Regions from separate parts of the Homo sapiens genome. Here regions 1 and 3 are each linked to region 2. The links are contacts of gene promoters, found by promoter capture Hi-C in blood cells and fetal thymus (Javierre and others, 2016). All regions are on one chromosome and are shown on one strand. The core of a region is centred on a gene start or on the middle of the fragment in contact, and the rest is flanking DNA. Distances in the headings are between cores, read along the strand shown. Region 1 has its middle 4.6 kb from the start of KLHDC8A. Region 2 holds the start of CDK18 (cyclin dependent kinase 18). Region 3 overlaps TMCC2 (transmembrane and coiled-coil domain family 2).

Region 1 (3,476 bases), core at 320-2,819, 140 kb after region 2:
TTTCATTTAATCCTCTCAACAGTCCTGTGAAATAGGTACTATAATAATCCGATTTTACAGATGAAGAAACTGAGACTCAGAAAGTTGATTTATTCAGGGTCAAGCAGAGAACTAGGATATGAACCCATATCTATCTGATGCTCAAGGCTTTGCTCTTTAAAAAGAAACACAGCTTTGTCGAGAAATAATTCACACACCACACAATTCAGCCATTTAAAATGTACAATTCAATGGCTTTTGCCAAATGGATTTGTGCAACCCTCACCACAATCAATTTTAGAACATTTTATCAGCCCTAAAAGAAATCCTGTCAACTGATGAATAGATAAATAAAACATGGAATATTCATACAATGAAATATTGTTAGGCAAAAAAGAAAGTACTGATACATGCTACAACGTATCTATTTTTTCCTTTTGTTGCTTGCGCTTTCCTGTCATATCTAAGAAAACATTGCCTACTCCAAGGTCATTAAGATTTATGCTTATGTTTTCTCCGGAGAGTTGTATAGTTTTAGCTCTTACATTTAGGTCTTTGAAGCTCTTTCTCGAAACCACTATGCTTTACTGTTTTGTGTGTGCATAAAGACACAAATACAGTCATAACCCATGGATGAGAGAGAAGCATGAAACGCCTGAGTAATTGGCATTTGGGGTTATCTCTGGATTTTAATGATCTGTTTTTCTCCTGCTCCAACTATGCTTGTAATTAAGAGTCAAATCACTTGATCATGTCCTGAATATATTCTAAAATCTCGCTTTGCAAAAACATCTTACATTCCCATTTCCATGACCCTAATTTAGGTCCTCATCTTCTCACCAGTAGGCTATTTTGATAATCTTCTAAGTAGGCCAAGTTCTTCTCTGATGAAATGCACCTCCCTTTATTGAAATCAATTGCTTGTTAATTTATTCATAAGCTTCACTAAGAGAGGAACTATACATTTCTTTTTCACCATCATGCCCCTGGTGTTTAGCATTGTGTCTGGCACATAGTGGGTGCCCCACAAATAATCACAAAGGAAGACTATGTGATCTCCTTATCATGAAACTCTTCTCCTGGACTAAACACTGTTTATGCTGCTGCCAGATTAATATTCCAAACACTGCTCTGATCACTTCACTTCTTGGCTCAAAAACTTTCAAGGTCTCTCTACTGCCTTCTGAGAAGCGCCGCTCTTTTTTTTTTTTTTTTTTTAAGAGACATGGTCTCACTCTATCTCCCAGGTTAGAATGCAATGATGTGTGATCATAGCTCACTGCAGCCTTGAACTCCTGGGCTCAAGTGATCCTCTTGCCTCAGCCTCCTGAGCAGCTAGGACTACACGCACATTTAACTGTCCCTGGCTAATTTTTTTTGATAGAGATTGGGGGTGGGAGGTGTTGCAGGTGTCTCACTATGGTGCCCAGGCTTGTCTAAAACTCCTGGCTTCAAGCATTTTCCTGCCTCAGTCTCCCAAGAGCTGGGATTACAGGTGTCAACCACTGTGCCTAGTCCTCTGACATGACATCCAAGCAAGGGCTGCCATTCCCAGTTCCTTTCAGAACTCACAAGGCAACTTTGGAGTTGGGCAGGCTGCAGGAAACTCCAAGTATGAGAGTGGTCATTTGCTCTTGTCATGAGGTTGCCAGATTCAGGAAATAAAAATGTTGGGCCGGGCGTGGTGGCTCATGCTTGTAATCCCAGCACTTTGGAAGGCTGAGGTGGGAGGTTCAATCGAGTCCAGGAGTTCAAGACCAGCCTGGGCAACAAAGTGAGATCCCAACTCTACCAAAAACAAAGAGAAATTTCTAGGAATAATAGACGGGGTAAAAAATAGACAGTGGGTAAAAGATACTCACTTAAATCTTAATTTTAAACAACAAATCGTTTTTTGGGATATCCTAAATATTCAGATTTAACTGGGCATCCTCTGTTGTATCTGGTAGCCCTACAGTTAGTCTCAACCACATTCCAGTCTGCAACATCGATGCACTGTATCTTCTTGGAATGCCCCCGACTCATTTTGACCCAAATCTGACACCTCTTCAAAGGCCCTGCTCAAAGACCCTCTCTCCCACAAGGTCTTCTCTGGCATCCTCTGATAGTTATGATTACTTCTTCCTCTCCACTCCCAAAGCGCAAAGAGCAGACCCATTGTGTGTCCCGTAACACATGCTTCCTTCCACTCTGCAGAGGCTAGCCTTGTGTCTTAACCCTGCCTGAGCCTGGAAGCTTCCTGAGCACCAGACCAATGTGCTCTGCCAGCTCATGCTGCGTACTCAGGAGGTGCCATTAGCTGGTTGTTAAATGAATATGTAAGACTCGATTGTCCTAAATCAGAACTACTTTCTATTTTTATTTTCACAGTGGACTTTTCTCCCTAAAGTTCTAGGATCAGTGGGACATGGGCATCACAGGCAAATTACGTGGCTTCTAAGAGACTGAATCTGAAATCTTCTAATTTAGGAGAAAGGAAGGAAATGTGAATCTTTTTCTTCTCTGAACAAGGAAATAAGAATTTGTTAAAAAAAAAAAGATTGAGCATTGACAATTACTGATTACAAAATAAAATAATATTATAGTTTTAAATAAAAACATCTCCATGTGAACAAACTTCGCTTTGTATTTTAGTATCTGTTTGAGTAGGTTTGTACTGCAAAGCGGAAAAATGAAATCTCCCAGGCACCATTTGCCAAGGGATTTGCTCCCCTTCTTTGTCTGTTCAGATTAATCCGAGAGTGGCTGAGAGCTGCCCATTTTATCTCTGGGTTGAGGCAAAAGGGAGCAGTGTTTTCCAAAATAGCCCATGAGATGGCTGGACTCCCTCAGACAGGATTTGGGGGAGGACAAAGGAACCATGTGGGCATTTTATGTAGAGTATCTGGACCGGGTGCCCTGTCATTTGGAAGGCATCTGTTCCTGCCATTTGCACATCTTCCGGTAATCCTCCATTGATCGCCACCCCGCGTTCCTTCCTGCCCACTTGTGCCGGCCCTCCCCGCAGTGCCCTCTGACGTGAGGCCCTTCTTTCACTGCTCTAATTCAATGGCTTCTAATTGGATGCTCTGCCTGGCTAATGGCTTCTACCCAACTGCAGGGCTGACATTTACTTATTTGATTTCCACCCCTCCCTCTGCTCTCTGGCCTCCTTTGTGAGCAGAGCTTAAATTAGGCAGGATTTTAGATCCAGCACCTTTTTATATTTTGGTGTGGGCCTCTTGTTTTTTGAGCTGGGAGGGGTGGCTGAGTAGAGAAGAGCCTTGGAAATATACGCTGAGCTGATCAATCCTGAACCCTGCAGATAAACCCAGCTTTGTGACTTATCTGTGTCCCAGAATCCCAGCTGCCTCTGGGCTGCTTTCTTTGTTTGCATTTTAACCTGGACCCTAGCCTGCTAATTTCGGCTGGAACAAACTTTATTCTGTCACTGAATATCAGACCAATGCCAAAAGAGTCGTTGTTTGTTTTCATCACTGGAAAGGTTCTGGGCTAAA
Region 2 (3,677 bases), core at 1,057-3,556:
GCAAATGCACCCTGAAAGGCAGCTCCATGTCCTCTAGACCTGAGCGGGGGTTTGCAGGGCTGGCAACCTGATCCCACGAGATCTCAGACCAAGAACCTATTTGCTCCTCAGATCTGGTGCCCTCTCTCCTGTGCCCCATGGAGAAGCCTGGCTCTGCCTAGTGCAGGACAGACAGATGGGAGCCTCAATATTTGGAGCATCACCCCCATTCTTTCTTCTCCTGAGGACTGACGCAGACCAGAGAACTCCAGAGTGGGCCGGAACCTCCCCACAATGGGGCAGGGGTTAACAGCAGGGGCTTGGGGTCAGACGGAAGTGGGCTGGATCCCACCTCTGTGTGACCTTGGAAAAGTTGGTCTCTCAGAGACTCAGTTTCTTCACCTGTAAAATGGGGATGATAATAATACCTACTTCATAAAGTTGTGACGCACTGCTTGGCGCACAGTAGATATTCAACAAATGGTGGCCACTAAGGCTTGTCTACTCTGCCTCTGGCACCCCCGATAAGTTTGGGAAGAACTTCTTCTGGCACGCGTGGAGAGCTTCTTCCATTCTCCTGGCAGGGTATGGGGAGAGTCCTGGGGACCCAGTGGGGAGAGTCCTGGGAACCCAATGGTCAGGTACACCCCAGATTAAGGGTGGGGGAGGGGTCAGCCCCACAGCCTCCTCAGCTGCACAAGAGGTGGCTGGGAAAGGGTAACCCGAGATAGCAGCTTTGCTGTGGCAAGGTGACCCTCTCTCTGGAACGCCTTCAGGATGCAAACCCGGACCTGGAGCCAGTGTCGCCCTGTACTCCACCGACCCTCAGCACCCTCAGCACCGTTTTCCCAGGCCCCTCCCAAGGCCAGGCTAAAGGCAGGGGATCTCTGAGGACGTGCCAGTCCACCAGGCGCTCCAGGCATCCTCTCAGGCCCGTGTCCAGGAATGTGCTGCATGCCCATGCCCGGGTGGGGAATGCCACGCGAACATGCCGAAGCTCACTGGGTGCTGACACAGGAGGGGCAAGCCGGTGGTGTTAGTGAGTCACAGGGCCCAGGCTACAGCTGGGGAACTGCCGAGGGCTGGGCTAGGGGTGGGGAAGAAGGGGAGACAGTAGCAGATAGCGCGGAAGAGGTTCCAGGGCCTCTCACTCCCACAGTGTCAATCCTCCCACCCCGACTGCCGGGAGGTGCCCAGAGAGAATGAAGAGAGGCAGGGCTGGTGCCTAGGAGGGTGCTGACCCTGCAGCACAGAAAACCCCTCACTGTTTCTGCAGCCCAACTCCCACCCAGCACAAGGTCTGCAGACACCTTCAGGGAATCCCCGCCCCCCACAGGGCGAAAACAGAGGCCTCCAGTCCAGACCCGATTTTGGATTTCAGATTCCTGATGGTGTCCCTCAACTACAGCAGAATCCTCAAGGCACATCTCCTTAGCCCAACAGGTCACCGCCCACTCCCCCCGGCCCCACCCAGCCTCCTTTCCCTCTGCTGCATTAACCCTCTGTCGCCTGTTGATGAGGGGTGGAGGGGGGCACTGCCCCTTTGGTCTTCCGGGGTGGAAAGAGAGAAGCAGCAGCATTCCCCAGACCCCTGCCTCCCCCAGAACTGGGACCTGCAGGGCTTCACGTGTCCTTCCACGTTCTTCCCAGGGCTCCGGCCTCCCACCCCCTGCCTGCCGCTCTGGAAAGTTCACCAGAGCCCAGGAAGCCCTTCAAGGCAGCGATGTGGCCCCACACTCTCGGGTCCTTTGGTCCCTGGAGACTCCTGACCCTTGCCCTTCCCAGAATGAAGGGAGCTTAGAAAGCGCCTGGTTCCGGACTGGGTGGAAAACTTTGCTTTGTAGGGTTCAGACGGGAGCCCAGGGGCCAAAGTGATCCCAGATGGAGACTCCCTAAGGGGGCGCGGGGTCTGAGATTGCAAAATAACCCTCCCTCTCAAGCACCTGGAACTTACGAGTGGCCTTTCGAGGGCACCCCCCACCCCTCAACACACAACACAGTATCACACAGATCACGCCTCGTGATCTCTGCTCTCCCCTCGCCGCTCCGGTATTTCCCTCCAACCTCTCGCCTCAGGGCAAAAGCAAAACTGCGCCTTTAAGAGCCGTTCCGCTTACCTTTGCTCCTTATACCCGGCGCCGCGGTGCCCGCTCCTCCGACCTCCCCCTTCCTCCCAGGCGCACCGCCCGCGGGACTCACAGCGCGTGTCCTGGGGGCCGCGGTGCGCCCGCTCCCTCCCGGGCACGGGGCAGCTTCCCCTGCTCCGGAAAGGTGAGCAGTTCCCCAGAGAAGCTGCAACCTGAGCTGGCCGAGGAGGAGGTAGAAGGGGAGGGGAAGGGAGGGAGTGGAGGAAGGTGGGGAAGAGGAGGGAGGAGGAGGAGGAGGAGGAGGAGGAAGGAAAATGCCCGGCCCCCGCCAGAGTTTTTCACATGTACAAGTTGACTCCGCCCCCGGCCCTCCCGCCCTGCCCACAGCCGCTACCAATCCCCAGGGCTCCCTCTGCCCGGGTGCCCACCCCTTTCTCCCACTCTGGGAACCAGGGTCCAAGTGCCTCTTCCTGTTTCGTTTCTAAAACCGGCCCTGAGAGCCTTGGCTAGGGGATGAGGCCTTCTGGACTGGATCACCCCAGGACACCAAGGCGCCAGGGGTACACTGAGAGTGCCTGCCTGTCTCTAAAAGCGGTGCTCCTACCTCTCCTAGGTACCTCCCTGTACCTGGCGCCCTAGGAACGAATGTGCATGGACAGATTTTGGTGGTCATTTTCTTGACAATAGTAGCCCTCGGGCTCCCCTTCTACCCTATCCAGTGGGACTTGTCACTTACCTTTCCGGACAAAGTTCCCACCTCTCCAGGACCTGAATGAAGCCCTTGTTACCAGCCATCATTCACATTTCCCTCCCCGAAGGATAATTCAACTTGTCCTTTTGGAATTAAACTCCACAGGATATTTGAGAATCATCCAAGAAGGGTTACAGAATGGCTAGTTCAGCTAGTGGCACTCTCATTTTACAGAAGGGGAAACTGAGGCCCAGCAAAGCAATTGAACTGGCCTAAAGTGCCACAAGAGTTCATGGCGAGCCATGATTAGAACTCAGGCCAATGGCCATTGCACCCACATCATCTGACTTCAAGGATCAAAAAAAAAAACAAAACAAAAATCTGGGGATGGGGGTGAAGGGCACAGTGCCCCACCGCCAGGCCCCTCTCATCTCTGCTTCCTCCTGAGGGCTGTGAGGAGAGGAGGTGTGCCTTGGCTCTATGGCACCTCATCAAGGCAGTCTGTGTCCCCTGCCCTACCAGAGGGCTTGGCTGCTGCAGTCTGGGGTCTCCCACAGGGAAAGTCTCCTTAGGAGGGGGTGCTCCACAGTGTACATGTGCTTCTACCTGAACCCTTTCCCTGGGGACTGTGAGTTGTTGAGAATAGAACAGTTTCCTTCTGGAAGACATGGGCCTGAGGTCCCACTGTCAGCTGGAGACAGGAGAATGAAGGAAGACACTGGGCCCATGCATGAAAGTGACCTGTGGGTAGTTGACATCTCACAGAGGGCCTCCCAACTCTTTTTTTTTTTTTTACCTCGCTTTCTCTGCCAAGGCATGCAGATTTCCTGGGCACAGCACTTCCTAAAAATGAAACTGCCAAGTGTTGTCGGGGTGCATGGATCCAGAGCCTTTAGGTGTGCAGCAACCTCCTGGCTCTG
Region 3 (3,620 bases), core at 689-3,188, 240 kb after region 2:
GGACTCGATGGAGAGAGGGCAACCAAGGTAAACAGAGCCAAGGAGCTGGTACACAGATAGGGACAGCTTTAACAAAGGAAAGATTATGCTTTAACAAAGGAAAGAAAATTAGTGAACAAGAAGAAAAAGATGAGAAAGCTGTTCAGAGTGCTGGAACAGGACAGAGGGTGAGAAAAGGAGAAAGACTTGCCAAAAAGAACAGCCATGAGACAGGATACAGGGTCTGCGGAAGGTAAAGGAAAGGGCTTTAAAGTTGGAGTTGGGCACTAATTTAGATCCTGGCTCTGTCACTTACCAGCTGAGAGCTATCAGGACGATGAGATGAAACACTGAGTAAAGGGCATAAAGCAGGTGCTTAGAAACAAATACGAACAAATTAAGAGACGCTTCACACCCTTAGAATGACTATAATAATTTTTTTTTTTTTGAGACGGGTTCTCACTCCATGGCCTAGACTGGAGTGCAATGGCATGATCGTGGATCACTGTAGTCTCGACGTCCCAGGCTTAAGCAATCCTCCCACCTCAGCTTCCTAAGTAGCTGGGGCCACAGGCATGAGTCACCAAGCCCAGCCCCTAGTAATTTTTAGAAAGGAAATAAGTGGGCTGCACACAGCGGCTCACACCTGTGGTCCCAGCACTTTTGGAGGCCAAAATGGGAAAATTGCTTGAGTCCAGGAGTTTAAGACCAGCCTGGGCAACACAGCAAGACCTGTCTCTACAAAAAATAAAAAAACAGCCAGGTGTGGTGGTGCATGCCTGTAGTCCCAGCTACTCAGGAAGCTGAGGCAGGAGGATGGCTTGAGCCCAGGAGTTCGAGGCTGCAGTGAGCTATGATCACACACACCACTGCACTCCAGCCTGGGCAACAGAGTGAGACCCTGCTTCAAAAAAAAAAAAAAAAAAAAAAGGAAATAAGTGTTGGTGAGCATGTGCAGGAATTGGAAGCTTTGTGCAACATACCTAAAACATAAAACAGCACAGCTGATGTGGAAAACAGTTTGGGAGTTCCTCAAAAAGTTAACATAGAATTACTTTATGACCCAGCAATTCCACTCCTAGATATTTTCAATTCCCAAACGAATTGAAAATGAGTATTCAACACTCATTTGTACACAAATGCTCATAGCAGCAATATTCACAATAGCCAAAAGGTGGACATAACTCAGATGTCCATTAACTGATGAATGGGTCAACAAAATGTGACATTTCTTGCAATGAAATACTATTCGGCCATGAAAGAAACAAAGTGCCGGTAATGCTCCAACATGGGTGAACCTCAATAATGTTAGGCTAAGTGAAACAAACCAGACAAGAAAGGCCACATAATGAATGATTCCATTATATGAAATATCCAGAACAGTTAAATCCACAGAGACAGAAAGCTGATTAGTGGCTGCCAGGGGGCTGGGGTGGGGGTGGGGGAAGGAATGGGGAGTAACAGCTTAATGGGTACAGGGTTTCCTTGGGGTTGCTGAAAATGTTTAGGAACTAGATGGAGGTGATGTTTCAACAATTGGGTGTGGAAGGCCAGGGTCCTCCACTGGCCTGGGCCACAGCTCCCACCATTGTCCATTACAGAGTGGGTATGCAGGAGGGTCTCTGGGTCCTTCAGCTCACTGTGTCAGGTTTAGTAGGGTAGCAGCTCTTCCTAACACACTCCTAATACCCCTGTCGTGCAGCTGGTTGACTAAAAAGACCAGATCACTCAACTCCCAGTCAGTAGCAGGCAGAAATGCCCAAGGTTCCCCAGCCCAAAGCAGGGCACAGGTGGGCTACACAGGAACCACTGCTCCTCTCTCCAGACCATCACAGAGTCCTGTTTGGCCCATGCCACCCAGCTCCCTATCCATGCCCAGCCACCAGCACCACACCTGGAGTTGTGGCCCCCACACCATGACCTCCTCACCCCACCCCAACCTGCCTGAGATAGGCTGGCCACTCCACAGGTACCTGACTCCAGATTAATCCTTGTGAATGGGCTGGGCAAGCTCTAAGAGGAGAACCGTGGAGGGAGAGTCATACTTCTTCCATGATCCCCCTCCACACCAGAATGCCCCCTGCTCAGGGACCCTACCAGCCAGGGCCTTACATCTTGCTCTACACAAAGGCTGAGGGCTGAGAAGTGCTGACAAATGTCTGGATAAGCCAGAGCTGGGACGTTCTCTCAAGTGTCCAAGACCCAACTTTCCCTATTCCTCTTCCTGCTCCAGTGAGATCTACCCTCAGCCCACGCACACCTGGGGGCTCCCCTCCACATGGCCTTGGTGGCACCCCGGACTCACCTCCCTGGCCCCTTTCACAACACTAAATGAAGCTGGATTAGGCTCTCTGCCAGATTATAAGGAGCTGCCGGATCAGGGCTTCCCAGCCCTGGCTCCCGTGGAACTTCCTGGGGTTTCCACCTCCTCCCAGGGCCTGAACTCAGTGTCCTCGTGTCAACCCGGCCCTGGACATGGGACACCGGTGCTTCCTCTCACACACTAGCCCAGCAGCCTGGATCCCCGATATCCGGGAGGCACACAGTAGACACTGTTGGAACAGAAAGTATCCAGGCTTAAGTGAAGCTGTGTGGAGGGAGGGGAAGGGCACTAGCTATGTAAATTGGGAAATGTGAATCGTGGTTCTCTTTCTTCATAATGTAAATGCATTAAGCAGTTTTCAAGATAGACCACAGAAACAGCTGCCATTTGCAAGGAACATGTGCTCCACACCTGTGCTCCCAGCTGCACGAGAAAGCTGTACCTCTGACCCTCCTCCCTCTGAGGCAGGCAGCCCCTTCCCAGACTCGCAAAGAACCCGTTAGGGTCCCCACAGCAGGCTGACAGGGAGAAAGGGGCCTTCTCATGTTAGCCATCTGCTCAGGAGTTGGAAAGACAATATAAGGTCACTCTTAGATGGAAAAAAAAAAAAGACAAAGAAAAAGCTTTGGGGGTTCCTATGCTTCCCTTTAGGAAAGCAGGGCAGCCCAGTCATCCTGACAATGGAGTCAGGTGTCAACCCTGGCTTGTCTATGGGTCTAGACAAGCAGGCCCAGGCCTGTGCAGAACACCGCTCCTGGGAGCAAGGTCTGGGCTCCCAGTGGGTCAGAGCCCAGCAGGCGAGTGCGGCCCCGGGGCTGGCAGGCCTGGGTGACTCAGCAGAGATGCTTCAATCTGCTGACTGCTGCCCCGTGACTCTGATTTCAGTGGCCCTCTCGGGATAAAGAACGCTCAGATTCCCTTTTTCTACCCATTCTCAGATGGAAGGGGAGGTCAACCAGACTAGGATGGAGAGGAAAGCCTACAGCCAGCTAAAATCCTTCAACCCAAAGAGGTCATGTGACCTTACGGTAAAGTTGGGAGAGAAGGAACTTGAAATTTCTTGTACCAACCCAACATTCCAGCAAGAGCAGGGTGGAAAAATTATTCCAACCCTTGGTCCTGAAGTCAGAGGCTTTCCCCATTCCATTTTTTCAACTCAGCAGGAATAGCCCGGTGGGGCTGGTGGCTCTCTGCCTTCCTGGTGAGGATATGTGGGTAACAGGAAGCTGCTCACTCCAGCTCTGGATGTGTCATCACAGCTGACCCGGGTGCTCCCAGGTGGGCAAAGGGGTGGGGGTGGAGAAAGAGCCTACCTATC

Evidence for each region. Contacts are between HindIII fragments. The CHiCAGO score rates a contact against its expected background, and 5 or more counts as called.
Region 1: a contact is called between a fragment that was not itself captured here and the fragment with the promoter of CDK18 in region 2, in 6 of 17 cell types (endothelial precursors, total CD8 T cells, naive B cells and 3 more). The highest score is 8.4, in endothelial precursors.
Region 3: a fragment that was not itself captured here is called in contact with the fragment with the promoter of CDK18 in region 2 in 2 of 17 cell types (naive B cells and total B cells); the score reaches 5.4 in naive B cells.

Annotation. Positions count from the first base shown.
Region 1 is chr1:205,359,819-205,363,294 of GRCh38, reverse strand. No RefSeq gene overlaps it. Among named protein-coding and RNA genes, the nearest start is that of KLHDC8A, 4.6 kb to the right of the region's middle. The HindIII fragment of the contact is 1,295 bases long and covers 922-2,216 here.
Region 2 is chr1:205,503,298-205,506,974 of GRCh38, reverse strand. CDK18 (cyclin dependent kinase 18) reads right to left here and starts at 2,306. Exons shown (of 16, transcript NM_212502.3): 1 at 2,179-2,306. RefSeq lists an enhancer at 1-382. The HindIII fragment of the contact is 14,965 bases long and covers 1-3,677 here.
Region 3 is chr1:205,258,486-205,262,105 of GRCh38, reverse strand. All of the region lies in intron 2 of TMCC2 (transmembrane and coiled-coil domain family 2), which reads right to left. Among named protein-coding and RNA genes, the nearest start is that of TMCC2-AS1, 23 kb to the right of the region's middle. The HindIII fragment of the contact is 1,978 bases long and covers 950-2,927 here.